5 separate regions of the Homo sapiens genome follow, and regions 2, 3, 4 and 5 are each linked to region 1. The links are contacts of gene promoters, found by promoter capture Hi-C in blood cells and fetal thymus (Javierre and others, 2016). All regions are on one chromosome and are shown on one strand. The core of a region is centred on a gene start or on the middle of the fragment in contact, and the rest is flanking DNA. Distances in the headings are between cores, read along the strand shown. Region 1 holds the start of PALD1 (phosphatase domain containing paladin 1). Region 2 overlaps SGPL1 (sphingosine-1-phosphate lyase 1). Region 3 overlaps SGPL1 (sphingosine-1-phosphate lyase 1). Region 4 has its middle 9.4 kb from the start of SGPL1. Region 5 overlaps ADAMTS14 (ADAM metallopeptidase with thrombospondin type 1 motif 14).

Region 1 (2,587 bases), core at 88-2,587:
GCTGGAACATTTCAGCACATTTGCTTGCTTGCATGGAACTGGATCTCTGCTGCCCTGGCACTCTCGCAGCCTACATTACTCACATAGCAATTAATGGTGTGTAGCCTCTTGGCTTTCCACTATTACCAGTTCAGGACTGGTATTGAAACCCTGTATCGGGGAACTTTGTGTGTTTATGTCCTGTCTTGCCCCCAGGGGCTGAGCCTCCTGAGGACAGAATCCTCCAAATCCTCCTCCATCCACACATTCCAGGGGCACGGCCCAGTGCCCTTCCTGGCATTTAAGAGGTGCTCGGCCACTGGGTTCAGGTTACTCTACCCAGAAGCCAAGGAGTTGGTTCCTGGGCCTCTGGCTGGGAGAGTAGAGATGCCCAGAAGATTCCCTGGGCCATGAAGCTTTACTCCCATCTCTGACAACCCAAGAGAAAGGGCTCCAACCATCCCGGCCACCTTCAGGAGCCGGGTCTCCCATAGGCCACTCTCTCTCTGACAGGTTACTGCCCCTTCAGGAAAACCCTCTGAAACTGAAAAACGTACTCTCCTTGGAGACCCGGGCCTACAGAGGAAGAGGGCCAGACTGGGCCAAGAATCAAAGCCTGTGCCCGCTGAGACTTCTGGACTCGTCCTGGGTCTGAGGGCCTCACGCCCCCTAGAGATGAGTCCCAGGACCCCATCTCGGTCATGAAGCGGCTTCCCTCTCCCCAATCTCCCCCTAACTTCGCGGGAAACCCTAGCTCCTGGCCATGCTCCCAGGTCTGGCAATGAAAAGTGGAATTGTCACCAGGCCATGCCTACACCAAACCCAGGGAACTCGGGAGAGGGGGTAGCCCAGGGTCCAACACACACAACCACCCAGCAACTGCTCCCTGTGAGTCCCTCTTGCCTCCCAGGGACCAATCCTGAGCGGGTGTGGGGTGAAGGCCCAGGACCTCACCTCTCCAAAGGATGGGGAGTTGGTGTCTGGAGCAGCCTCGGGCTGGGGGGTGCCCGGGGGATTCCAGATTTGCCCTCCCCTCGCCAGCCCCAGGGCAGGACACTTCGGTACCTGCCAGCCCGCGGCTCCGGGGGGCATCCGTGCTCCTGCGGCCGGCGTGCTGCGCCCGAACTGCGGGCGCCGAGTCAGGCAGCGACGGGGCGCGCCCGGCGCGCGCTCTGGCTCCAGCTCGCTCCTCCCAACTTCGCCAGCCCATGCGGGGGCAGAGGTGGCTCCGGAGGTGGGCAGGCCAGGCGGACCCGGCGAGGCCACGCGAGAGGGAGCCCGTGCTCACCGGCGACGGGACCTGCGCGCCCCGGCCCGTGCGCGCCGCGCTGCTCCCCAGCGCCCCGCTACCCAACGCCGAGGGGCGGACCCGACCCGGCCGCCAATCACCGCGCCCGCCCCCGCCCGGACCGCGAGTCCCGGCCCCACCGCGAGGGGCGGGGGGCTCAGATTTAAAGACACACTCAGCCCAGCCGCAGCCCCCGGGCGGGAGGAACGCGGGCGCCACGTTCCCCGGCTGCGCTTCCTCCCTCCGCCCGCCCACCCTCCGCGAGGAGGAAAAGTTTGGGGCGGGGGAGACTGCCCGGGAAGCCAGTTCCTCTTCCCTCGTCGCTAGTGCGGCTCCTTCTGGAAGACACCCAAACCCGACATCCAGCCTCCTGGCTGCGAGAGGCAGCAGCGCTCTGGGCGCCACACCCCGTCCCGGACGCCGGCTACCCGCGACACCCGCTGGCCCGGCTTCCCTCGCCCCCCTCTGCTTTACAGCCAGGCCGAGCCTCGGCGGGACCGAGCCCAGCATCCGGGCTCCGGGCCGGCCTCGCTGTGCAGTGCGGCCGGAGCTGGATGATGGTGCGCTCTGCACTTTTGCCTCCCACGTGTCGAAGGGGAGCCCCTAAACAGCAGACGGTCCCCCCAAGCAGGGGCTTCTCCCACGCCCCGGGGTCCTAAGGAAACGCGCCCCTCGGCCCCCAGAGGTGAGAGGGGAACAGCAGAGCAGAGCTTTGGATGGAGAGGGGTCCCTCCGCCCCCACCCATCATGCGGCTCCAGGCAGTGACCCGCACCATAGGCCTGCCCCCCCCACCACTCCTCACCCCACACGCGCGGACTAGCACTAGGCGGCAGCCAGCCCGGCCCACTCCGACGGCCCCGCACGCCCCCGCGAGCACGTGGGTGAACGCACCCACGTGCGTGCGTTCACTCTTCGCTGTGCTTCCTCGCGGAGAGATAGGCTTTGTTGTGGTTGGTGAGTCACTTCCTCCCTCTCGCTGCTCCACACTCGGGAAATCCTTTTTTCTCACCTGTTACCACCTGCCTCACCCCCATTCAGGACTGGAGCTGGATTTCGGCGAGCTGGGGTTGCCCCAGGATGCAGGCAGTGTAGGCCCCACCTCTGTCAGGCTGGAGAGCGCTGGGCTGGGAGAGGGGAACACATTCCCCATGACCCCTAAGAATAACTGAAGACAAGAGAAATCACTCATTGTGGTGGTCTCACCATGTCCCTAGCACCTAGCTCTTAAGTGCCTCGCGAAGTTATAAGGTCGGTACTTTTCTGATCCCTATTTTAACAAATGAGGAAACAGGCCCAGGGAAGACTTGTCCTCAGCTCCA
Region 2 (2,587 bases), core at 27-2,526, 380 kb before region 1:
TTCCTGTTCTTTTACTGATGCTAGAGAATACAGCAATGGACAGTGACTTAAACATTAAAGAGAAGGCAATATGATGGCGGCAACCAGGTCTCATAATCATGGAAATCTTTAACACCAGGTTTTAGAGTGCTAACCACTGCTTTATTCATCTACATCCTAGACTATATCAAATTTTGTACTATTCAATGTCAAGACCTCAACACATGTCACTTAGAAATTGTAAGGGTATTTGTCAAGGCCGAGCACAGTGGCTCACACCTGTAATCCTAGCACTTTGGGAGGCCAAGGTGGGCAGATCACCTGAGTTCAGGAGTTCGAGACCAACCTGGGCAACATGGTGAAATCTTATCTCTACTAAAAACACAAAAAATTAGCTGGGTATGGTGCCGCACGCCTGTAATCTCAGCTACTTGGGAGGCTGAGGCACGAGAATTGCTTAAGCCTGGAAGGTGGAAGTTGCAGTGAGCTGAGATCACACCACTGCATTCCAGCCTGGGCAACACAGTGAGACTCTGTCTCAAAAAATAAAAAATAAGGGTATTTGTCAAAATGCAACATGGCTCCTGGTTGGCTCCTAGAATAGAAAAAAGAACATTAGTTTAAAACAAAACATAGCAAAACAAAAAAAAACCCTGATGAACTAGAAATAGAATTTGTAGTGTAGTTAATAGCACTGTACCAATGTTAATTTTTTAGTTTTGATAAACGTACCATGGTTATAGAGGATGTTAACATCAGGAGAAGCTGGGTATAGGGAAATCTCTATCATCTTTGCTACTTTTCTGTAAATATATCAAACTAAAAAGCTTCTTTTTAAAAAGTACTTGTAATATGATCTTAATCAGTAACAAACATAAATCTGTTTGAGTTAATAATAGCAATAATGTTTAACATTTACTGAATCCTTACTATATGCCAGGCACTATAAAACATTTATACATGTATGATCTCATTTAATCCCCATAATCATCTTTTCAGGTAAGTACTGTACTACTATTACTATCCCCATTGTAGAGATACAGGAACTGTGACATACAGAAGTAACTCGCCAAAGGCATACTTTAAGTGGCAAACCAAGGTATGAATCCAGGCTGGTTCCAGGGTTACGCTCTTAAGCACCAAGCTATTTGGTCTATTTATCCATCCCATATGTGCTCATGCATACATGTGTATACACACAGACAAACACTATTAGCATTCTCAGAAACAGACAGATATACATATATAGATAGATGTAAACTATATAGACAGCTCTACCTATAGCTACATGCATAAAGATAGACACCATCTGTTTATCTTTGATAGTGGAATTATAGTGACTTATTTTCTTTTGTGCCTTTATGCAGATTTCACATTTTTACATGGATCTGTATTTCATTTGTATTACATATCTTATATTCTCTCTTCTTAAACACAAATATATTTGTTTTATTCATGCTTACAAAAGGAAATAAAAGCCAAGTTCCACTGTCTCTGAGATTTGCTTGCTTTATGGATGAAGGATGAATCTAAACATAATTTTAAAAATAGGAAATTCAACCTGTGAAACAGAGAGTAGGCCCTCCTAAACATGTATTAACCAATGATGAGTTATTCTTAACCTATGTGAACATTAAACAATGACAAAACCTGTCTCTTTAAGGAAGTAGAGAGCATGTATATGCCAAGCATCATACCCATAGAGCTGTACTCCTTAAGTTTCTCCAAAACAGCAGATGAGCTCAGACCCTGGGAGGGTAAAGCTTTCACATACTCTTTGTCCACTTTCAGGAATGACATGTTCTTGCTAATATCATCCTTGGTCTTGTTCAACTTGTCTTGAATCTCCAAAGGTAAGAAAGACAAAGTTATCCAGATGCAAGAGTACAGTAGAGACAGCAGAATTATTATGACAGTCAAGCAACTGCTCAATGCTAGGCACCGCACAAGTAACTAAACTAACATTTTTCCTAAAGATATATGGTGATATTCTGACTGATCAGCTACTTTCTGGCATGTACAATAGCCTCTTAAAAATTTGAAAAGCGAAGCTTCTCTCTAAAGGTCAAGATGCACTCAGCCGGTCGCGGTGGCTTACACCTATTATCACAGCTCTTCAGGAAGCCGAGGTGGGCAGATCATTACAGGTCAGGAGTTCGAGACCAGCCTGGCCAACATGGTGAAACCCCATCTCTACTAAAAATACAAAAATTAGCCAGGCATGGTAGCAGGCATTTGTAATCCCAGCTACTTGGGAGGCTGAGGCATGAGAATCACTTGAACCCAGGAGGTGGAGGTTGCAGTGAGCCAAGATCACACCACTGTACTCCATTCAGCCTGGGCAACAGAGCAAGACTCTGTCTCAAAAAAAAAAAAAAAAAAGTTGCACCCAATTTCCCCATAACCCTTTTCTCTGCCACATTGACATCACTGCTGCTTCACTTGGTTGGCATTGCTAAAGTCAGCACATCCTTGAGGGCAGTATTTGGACTTTGATCCTGCCTTGGCAGCAGCTACAGTGTGTGTGTAAAAGAATCAAAGGTATAACTAGGAACAGTGGCCAGAAAACTGGCCATGCTGCAGTAAAAGTGATTCTGGTCCTTGTGCA
Region 3 (2,587 bases), core at 25-2,524, 350 kb before region 1:
TGAACCTGTCCTTCACAGATGAAGACATTGAGGCCTACAGGTCACAAAGCTCGGAAATAGCGGAGCCAGGACTCAAATCTTCTGGTTTAAAATGCATTGTTTTTTCCACTGCCTAGTTTTCCAGAGCCAAACTATCAGTGGCACAAATCAGGAGACCAACAGTTCTCAAAGTCCTGTCAGCTAGTTTACTCCAAGAGCCAAAGGAAAGGCTCTCATCTTCACTACGCTCCCAGTGAAGGCATACAGAACTTCCAGATGACCTAACGGCATCCTACAAGGGCTGAGCATTTTGGGGAAGTGAACTGCTATTGCATGGCCTTTTCGAACTGCAAACTTCATTCTTCTCTGAGCTAGAGACTTACACTCATACTACTTATTTGCTTACAAAAGAAAGACGGAAAGAAATTAGTTTGAAAAGTACTTCAGAAAAGTTGTCTTCAAAATCATAAAATGCTACTGTCTGAAGGAACCTTAGAGACCACCTATAGTCCAATCTCATTGCAGTGATGAAGAAACTGAGGCCACAGACTAATACCAAAATGTGCCTTCCCTGGTTTCAAACTAGAGGCACAGCCCCCAAGAGAATCTATCTTCTTCTTCAATATTCTTTCCATAAAGCCAGTGGGGGTACATCAATATCATCCAAGAAGCATGATTCCTGGAACGAATCATCTTCTTGGGTCAGAATACCCCACCCACAGGGTCAGAGTACAGAATGTGTATTTTGTAAACCTCCCTCCGGTGATTCTGACAGGCAACACTGCTTAAGAATCCATTCTCTTCCCCATCCTTTTCTTTTATTAAAAGATGACCCAGTAGCTGACTTAACATATTACTGACACCCAATCACCAAACTTAATGGCTACCCGGTATTCACGCAGCAGGGAAAAGACATCCACGAAGCTTTCCTGGGAAGTGTTAAAAGTCAGGGCCCAGTCACGTCACTCTACTAGATATCAATTCATTGTTCCTGCCTAATATTTATTCTTTGGCCAGATACTAATAAAAATCAAAATCTTCTACCCCACAATCCTGCAAAGAAGACAGAATTTGTTATTTGTTTTCCTGAACTATTCAACGCTCAATACTTTTTCCAGAAGGACCATAAATCTGAGCTTTACAGCAGGAATGGGCTGTTGAGGAAAAGAAAAATCTGTTCTACCCAGTTCAAATGTTACTCTAAGGACTAAGCCTCAGCCTAGGGAGTGAAGTTAAAATACAGAAGAGACTCAGTTAGTATATTTATTCTTATCAGCTTCTGCCCCCCCACCAAAAAAAGAAAAGCCAGAAAGCAAAGCTAATTTAATCTGATTTTCTTTCATATTACAGTCTACAGAACTTCAAAGTGCAAGGTAAACAGGTAAGAAAATACTATTGTCTTTATAGCCTCCAAAAGCATTAAAGTTTATCATCAAAAACACATCACAACCCCAAAGGGAAAATCCTCTTGGGTCATTAAAGAAGTAAGAACTGAGCAACAAAACCAGACAGCCATTCCAAGCAACCAGTAGTGACTGTGAGAAACGTTTGAGGAAACTGAATCATCATTTCTTAGGAGACAAAAAGCAAACCACATACTTCCCCCAAAATTCCACTATGTGAGTCAAGAGATCCAGTATCTGAGAAGTTCGTCTCAAAAAGCTTAAGAGTCTACATTTTCCCTTCTAGCCTGGCCTTGCCAGATATGTACACTTGGTACCATTCCCCAAGCACCAACTGCTATACACTTAGCATGGGAGTATTCAGGCAAAGCATCTTTCCATCCCTGAAATAACAAAACCATCTTGGCCACAGAAAGAACACACATATGAAATGTTCCCAAGTCATCAGAAGTGCACTCATGGAAAACCACAGCTTCTAAGTTCCTAAAAGCTGAACCCGAAACACTGCTAAATGGTCACTTTATTAATGTACTTGTGGTCAGGACAAGGCATCAAGTAAAGGGAGATGCTGATTCTGTTAAGTAACAATTCTGAGCACCTCTCTTCTGAAATACATATTTAAAAGTATCAGGAGCAGCTTATACTAGGAGAGAAGACTAAATGCATAAAACTGAATTCAATAAGCAGAGGAACACACTGAAGGACACAGAGATAAGAGCAATTACCAGTTTTGTAGGAAAATAGACTCCCAGCCTAAGGCAAGTAGGTAAGATATGGGGGGAAAAATATGCAAATTTGCACATGGAATGTTGCTAAGTTTGCTATGAACTCTCAGAGTCTGACAATAAATAGCTAAATGACTTACTGTGCACATGTATACAGGTTATATTTCAAAGCACAAATGAGTTTCATCATTCTCTAAAACTAGAAATGATAATTTCTTGGATAATAAGCAAGATCTAGTGGAAAAGATCCCGTATTTCTCACACAGAAAGAAGTCTTAACTTCTCTGAGCATATCACGATTGGGGAAGGGCAGAGGTTAGCTGACTTCTCCAGTCCCATACTTATCTTACTAACAGAATTCTCTATCTTTGTCTGGGAGTTAAGACACTTAGACTTTTCATAACCATTTGTGGAAATTCCTTCCCTACAACAGTCATGCTGCTATTAGAGATGAGGAATACTGAATATTTGCTGAGAAGT
Region 4 (2,587 bases), core at 65-2,564, 330 kb before region 1:
AAAACAGCCCATAATTTTATAGGACTATGTGGTTTTCTTGTCGCAATGTGCATAATTTATCTTGTGACCACAATGTAACTCACTGAATCACCTCTGTTTGTTAATTCCATCTTTTTCCTCCCAAGATAGAAAGGGGGAAAAAAATCTCTAGTTGTATGGTATTGGTCAAGAGATCTAAAAGATCATAAAGTGTAATACGACCAAGGAACTCCCAGAACTTTGGGCAACTCATTCAGTTGTTTTGAAGATTTTTTAAAATTGGGATACATTGTATGTACAGACAAGTCCACAAATCAAAGTGTAGAGCTAGATGAATATTGACATAGTGAACACCATTGTTCAGCACCACCCAGATCAAGAAACAGAATGTCACCAGTTCAATTGTTTTTTAAATAAATGCAAATGCAGATGGCAATCCTCCTGTCTGAGACCTCCCAGTCCTGTAGGAAACAGTGTTTTGATCTTCATCCAAAGAGCAACAGCCGTTGAGGTCTTTTCAGTCAAGGGACTGACAATATCACATTTGTGTTTTAGAACAATCCGTCTGCGTGGTATGGAGAATGGCTAGGAGAGAATTCATATGGGCAGAAAAGGTACTCAGCAAAGAATGAAAATAGTTGGTTCTAGGGTACAACAATGGCATAAGCTTAGAAGACAGACCTTTGGAAAGTGACAGAACAGATTAAAACAAGACTCCCAAAGCCACAGGCTACCCTGTGCCTGGCAAGCAGGCTCCCACATGTGCCCTCAAGCCAAGATTCCCAGGGAAGAAGTCACATTCAGAGCTCAGGGCAAACTAACCCATAGCTAGTGGGCTACACCTTTAACTTGTTGCAGCTGGATTGCGGTACCTCTCCCTTAACCACAGGATTCTTTCTGACTTGAAGGTTGTTTGGCAGAAGTAACCAGTAGAGTAATTGTGTTCATGCTGATGCTATTTCAATTTATCCTAAGTGCTATGGGTTGAACTGTGTCCCCCAACAATCCATGTGGTGAATATGGCCTTACTGGAAAATAGGGTCATGGCAGATGTAATGAGTTAAGATGAAGTATTACTGGAATAGGGTGCACCCCTAGCCTAATATGACTGGTGTCCTTATAAAATGGGGCAATTTGGACAGACATGCATAGAGGGGGAGCACCATGTGAAAATGAAGGTAGCAATCAGAGTGATGACTTTATAAGCCAAAGACCATCAAAGGTTGCCAACAAACCACCAGTAGCTAGGAGAGGGCCATGAAACGTGTTTTTCCTCATAGCTCTCAGAAGGAACCAGCCCTGCCAACACCTTGATCTCAGACTTCTATCTTGCAGAAATGGGAGACAATCCATTTCTGTTGTGCAAGCCACCCAGTTTGTGGCACTTTGTTACAACAGCCTGATTAGCAAGCTAACACAAATAGATTCTCACGCTAGCCCCAAACCTCAGTAGGTTGGCAATGGAGGAATGGGAAGGGCAGGGTGACATGACCATTCTCAGTGGCCTCATGTGCCCACTGACCACCCAAGTGTTGGGGCAGTGGTGGGGACTTGGAAGCCTGCAGAGCCCTCCAATAGCTGCTGCCAACTGTCTTTCTGGGAGACAAAGCAGCCTCAAGCTAGTCCTTGTGGGTCTGCTTGAGGGCACTGCTACATTCAGTTTTAGGGTATAAACCCACACCTGCCACTTAGGGACAGCTGTTGCAGGAGGTGCTGCAGAGGAAACCACTCACTCAGACATATTTCAAATGCCCACTCTTGCTATCCACTATCCATTGAATTCAAGTGCGTCAAATGTTTAAACCATGTGCCCTGGCTGCCCATCCAAACATCTAACTCAACATTCCTAGCTACTGCATCATCTTAGAACAAACTCAACTCATTTCATTTGAATATTCATATGAATCCCTTCAATACAGACATCATACAAGTCCTTTAAAACAAACTGTTTATAGCTAGTAGCCATCTCCTGACCTCAGCTGTCCCCCTCCAGGGAAAGCTTACAAAGTTTCTAGTTGGGAACAGAAGGCCCTTTGGGACTTGCCCAATGTTGTCTCAGGACATGACCTCACAACAGTAAAAACAAGTCAAAACCCAAGGCCTACTGGCAGAGAATCAGTTAAAGGACAAGCATAACTAAGTCAGCAGAGGTTACCTGGGCCTCACCCCAGCCTACATGGAAAGCACTTACCTGGTAAGCGCTCCGTAAATGGTAGCCCATAGCAATAATCATCTGTCAGTGGCTGTATTGATCTATCTGTGAATCAGATCATATCTGGAGAAGATAACCTTGAAGGGAAAGACACCATAAGAAGCCCAGTTAACTGAATGCCTTTCTTGAACTTGGCCACAGTGACCTCTACGATCAGCCGCTGCTTCTCTCCACCTTCATCTCCCCCATTTCCACCTCACTCTCAGACTTTATGTCCCAACTATACTCACAGTGACTATCTGGGATACTTTTGAAACTAAGGACATATTATTAAGTTTTCTGGGACAACAAGCATAAATTGGTCTGTTCTAACAATCTGAGTCTTCTAGTCTCCCTAGCCATCTAGAACAACTTAGAGTTTCCATAACATGCCCTGGGCTTTTATAGCTCCAGACT
Region 5 (2,587 bases), core at 64-2,563, 280 kb before region 1:
CCTAGCAGCTGCTGAAACAACCTGCTGTGACTCCACGGCTAGTTTTCCATAGCACCATCACTCACCAGTCAGAGCTTGCCAGCTCCCAAAAGCTTGTCTAGTGCCAATGAGTTGGTGTTCAACACAATACATATCATGTCTCTTTCTAATAAAACCCCCAACCTTTCCTTTGTTCTTTGGACATACTGAAGACCACCCGGTCTCTGTGTATGCCTTGAATTGCAATTCTTACTTAATAAAAGTTAAATTTAGAGATTCATCTCTATATTTTGCTTATTGCGACAGGGCCAGTATCTTCCACTATCTGCCATCTCTCTGTTACTTTTATCTGTGGGGTCCTTTGAAGACCAGCAATCTGTTTTATATCAAAACAAATGAAGCTATATATTATGGAGACATATAAAATGCATGAGTTGTGTGTGGATTTTTGGTTCTTTACAAATATTCATAATGCAATATTTCAAAATACAGAAAAGTATGGAGTTATTCACAAAACCCTATCCAGATGCCACCACCAGCCTTAATAAATGAGCATCCCAGAATATTTTCAGATTGTGTTGTGTCCCTCTAAACATTAAGGAAATGACATCCATTGGAAGTGCTTTTTTACTTCATACTGAAGTACTTTTTCTCACCTAAATGTATTCTCTATAACAGAAGTTTATCTATTTTGGTAAGTACAGTTCAGGCCTGTTCATTTTTCTTGTTGTATAGTACTGTATTATATGAACAGACCATGATTTTTGTCCAATCTTCTATAGATAAACATTTGAGATACGTCCTAATGTTTTGCTGTTGCAATAAACAGCATTGTGATCAAATGAGGTTTTTTAAATTGGGGTAATATCTATATAACATAAAGTTTGCCATCTTAACTAATTTTTTCTTTTTTTGAGACAAAGTTTCGCTCTTGTCGCCCAGGCTGGAATACAATGGCGTGATCTTGGCTCACTGCAACCTCTGCCTCCCAGGTTCAAGCGATTCTCCTGCCTCAGCCTCCCGAGTAGCTGAGATTACAGGCATACGCCAGCCACCACACCCGGCTAATTTTTGCATTTTTAGTAGAGACGGGGTTTCACCATGTTGGCCAGACTGGTCTTGAACTCGTGACCCCAGGCAATCTGCCTGCCTTGGCTTCCCAAAGTGGTGGGATTACAGGCGTGAGCCACCGCGCCCAGCCCATCTTAACTATTTTTAAGTCTATGGTTCAGTGGCATTAAGCACATTCCCATTGTTGTACAATCATTACCACCATCTGTTTCCAGAACATTTTCTTCTTTCCCAACTGAAACTCCTCGCCTATTAAACACTAACCCCTCATTCACCCTCCAGCAGCCCCTGGAAATCACCAGCAAAGTGCCCTCATGGAGTGTTTGTCCTTACATGTCTGGATGTCTGGCTTATTTCTTTTCTTTTTTTTTTTTTTTTTGTGAGACAAGCTCTTGCTCTGTCACTCAGGCTGGAGTGCAGTGGCATGGTATGGTCATAGCTCACTGGAGCCTTGACCTCGTGGGCTCAAGCAATCTTCCTACCCTAGCCTCCAGAGCAGCTGGGATTACAAGCACACACCACCACGCCCAGCTAACTTTTTACATTTTTTGTAGAGGCGAGGTCTTGCTCTGTTGCCCAGGCTGGTCTCGAATTCCTGGGCTCAAGCAATCCACCCACATCAGCCTCCCAAAGATCTGCCCACCTCAGCCTCCCAAAGTGTTGGGATTCCAGGCATGAGCCACTGCATCCAGCTTGGCTTGTTTTACTTGGCATGATGTTCTCAATGTTCACATCAAATGAGTATTTAAAAGAAAACCCAAGACAATTTCGTCAAGGCAGTTTCCCGAAGGTGGCCTCCAGGGTCTGAGCCACAGAGCACCCAAATAACTAAGCAGCGCTACTGCTATCTCCCCTTCGCTACCCTGACTGTCTAACGCTCAACCTTCCACAGCACCGTCAGAGTGATCTTTACAACCTGAAATCAGAGCTTGTAATGCCCATGTTAAAAGGCTTCCCTGGTTTCCCATTGCTCTTAGAATATATGCAAACCCCTTGCAAAGCCCGTAGCCATGGACCCCCGCCTGCCTCCCCAGTGTTATCTCGCAGCCCCTATCCCTCCCAGTCAGCTCCAGCCCCACTGTCCTGTTGGCTTCTGGAACGTTGTAAAATTGTTCCTGACTTGGTCTCTTCCTGTGGCTTGTCCCTCTGGTCTCAGCTTGAGCAACACCTCCTCAGAGAAGCCCTCTGACCGCCCTCCATCCTCCACCACATCGACCCACTACTCCCCACCCAGCTCCGACTGCAGTCTGTCAGTGCTTGGCTGTGGGTTGATGGCCTAATACATTTCCCTCACAGGACTGTGGGCTGCACGAGGGCAAGAATCAGCTCTGTCTGGTTGATGCTAGGTTCCCTCATTCTTAGTACAAGGTCTGGCATACAGCTAGTGCTCAGCAAGTATTTCTGGAATGCAAGAGTGTACTTCAGTCTGCTCATCTGGAACACAGGGACATGAACCCATGCCTCCTGGCACTGTGTGAAGCTTACTGGCAGGAATGAATGAACCTAAAGGCCTAGCACAGAGCCACGGCCCAGGGTA

Evidence for each region. Contacts are between HindIII fragments. The CHiCAGO score rates a contact against its expected background, and 5 or more counts as called.
Region 2: a contact is called between a fragment that was not itself captured here and the fragment with the promoter of PALD1 in region 1, in 2 of 17 cell types (total B cells and naive CD4 T cells). The highest score is 5.7, in total B cells.
Region 3: a fragment that was not itself captured here is called in contact with the fragment with the promoter of PALD1 in region 1 in 1 of 17 cell types (total CD8 T cells); the score reaches 5.3 in total CD8 T cells.
Region 4: a contact is called between a fragment that was not itself captured here and the fragment with the promoter of PALD1 in region 1, in 2 of 17 cell types (total CD8 T cells and naive CD8 T cells). The highest score is 5.8, in total CD8 T cells.
Region 5: a fragment that was not itself captured here is called in contact with the fragment with the promoter of PALD1 in region 1 in 3 of 17 cell types (naive CD4 T cells, naive B cells and endothelial precursors); the score reaches 7.0 in naive CD4 T cells.

What each region holds. Positions count from the first base shown.
Region 1 is chr10:70,477,517-70,480,103 of GRCh38, reverse strand. PALD1 (phosphatase domain containing paladin 1) reads right to left here and starts at 1,337. Exons shown (of 20, transcript NM_014431.3): 1 at 1,045-1,337. RefSeq lists an enhancer at 1-7 and silencers at 1,002-1,451, 1,652-1,721. The HindIII fragment of the contact is 7,738 bases long and covers 398-2,587 here.
Region 2 is chr10:70,853,945-70,856,531 of GRCh38, reverse strand. SGPL1 (sphingosine-1-phosphate lyase 1) reads right to left here. Exons shown (of 15, transcript NM_003901.4): 5 at 1,677-1,824. Among named protein-coding and RNA genes, the nearest start is that of PCBD1, 33 kb to the left of the region's middle. The HindIII fragment of the contact is 936 bases long and covers 809-1,744 here.
Region 3 is chr10:70,832,348-70,834,934 of GRCh38, reverse strand. All of the region lies in intron 2 of SGPL1 (sphingosine-1-phosphate lyase 1), which reads right to left. Among named protein-coding and RNA genes, the nearest start is that of SGPL1, 18 kb to the right of the region's middle. The HindIII fragment of the contact is 738 bases long and covers 906-1,643 here.
Region 4 is chr10:70,805,235-70,807,821 of GRCh38, reverse strand. No RefSeq gene overlaps it. Among named protein-coding and RNA genes, the nearest start is that of SGPL1, 9.4 kb to the left of the region's middle. The HindIII fragment of the contact is 1,332 bases long and covers 649-1,980 here.
Region 5 is chr10:70,754,156-70,756,742 of GRCh38, reverse strand. The region is part of intron 19 of ADAMTS14 (ADAM metallopeptidase with thrombospondin type 1 motif 14); the gene reads right to left. Among named protein-coding and RNA genes, the nearest start is that of TBATA, 30 kb to the left of the region's middle. RefSeq lists an enhancer at 1-108. The HindIII fragment of the contact is 2,438 bases long and covers 95-2,532 here.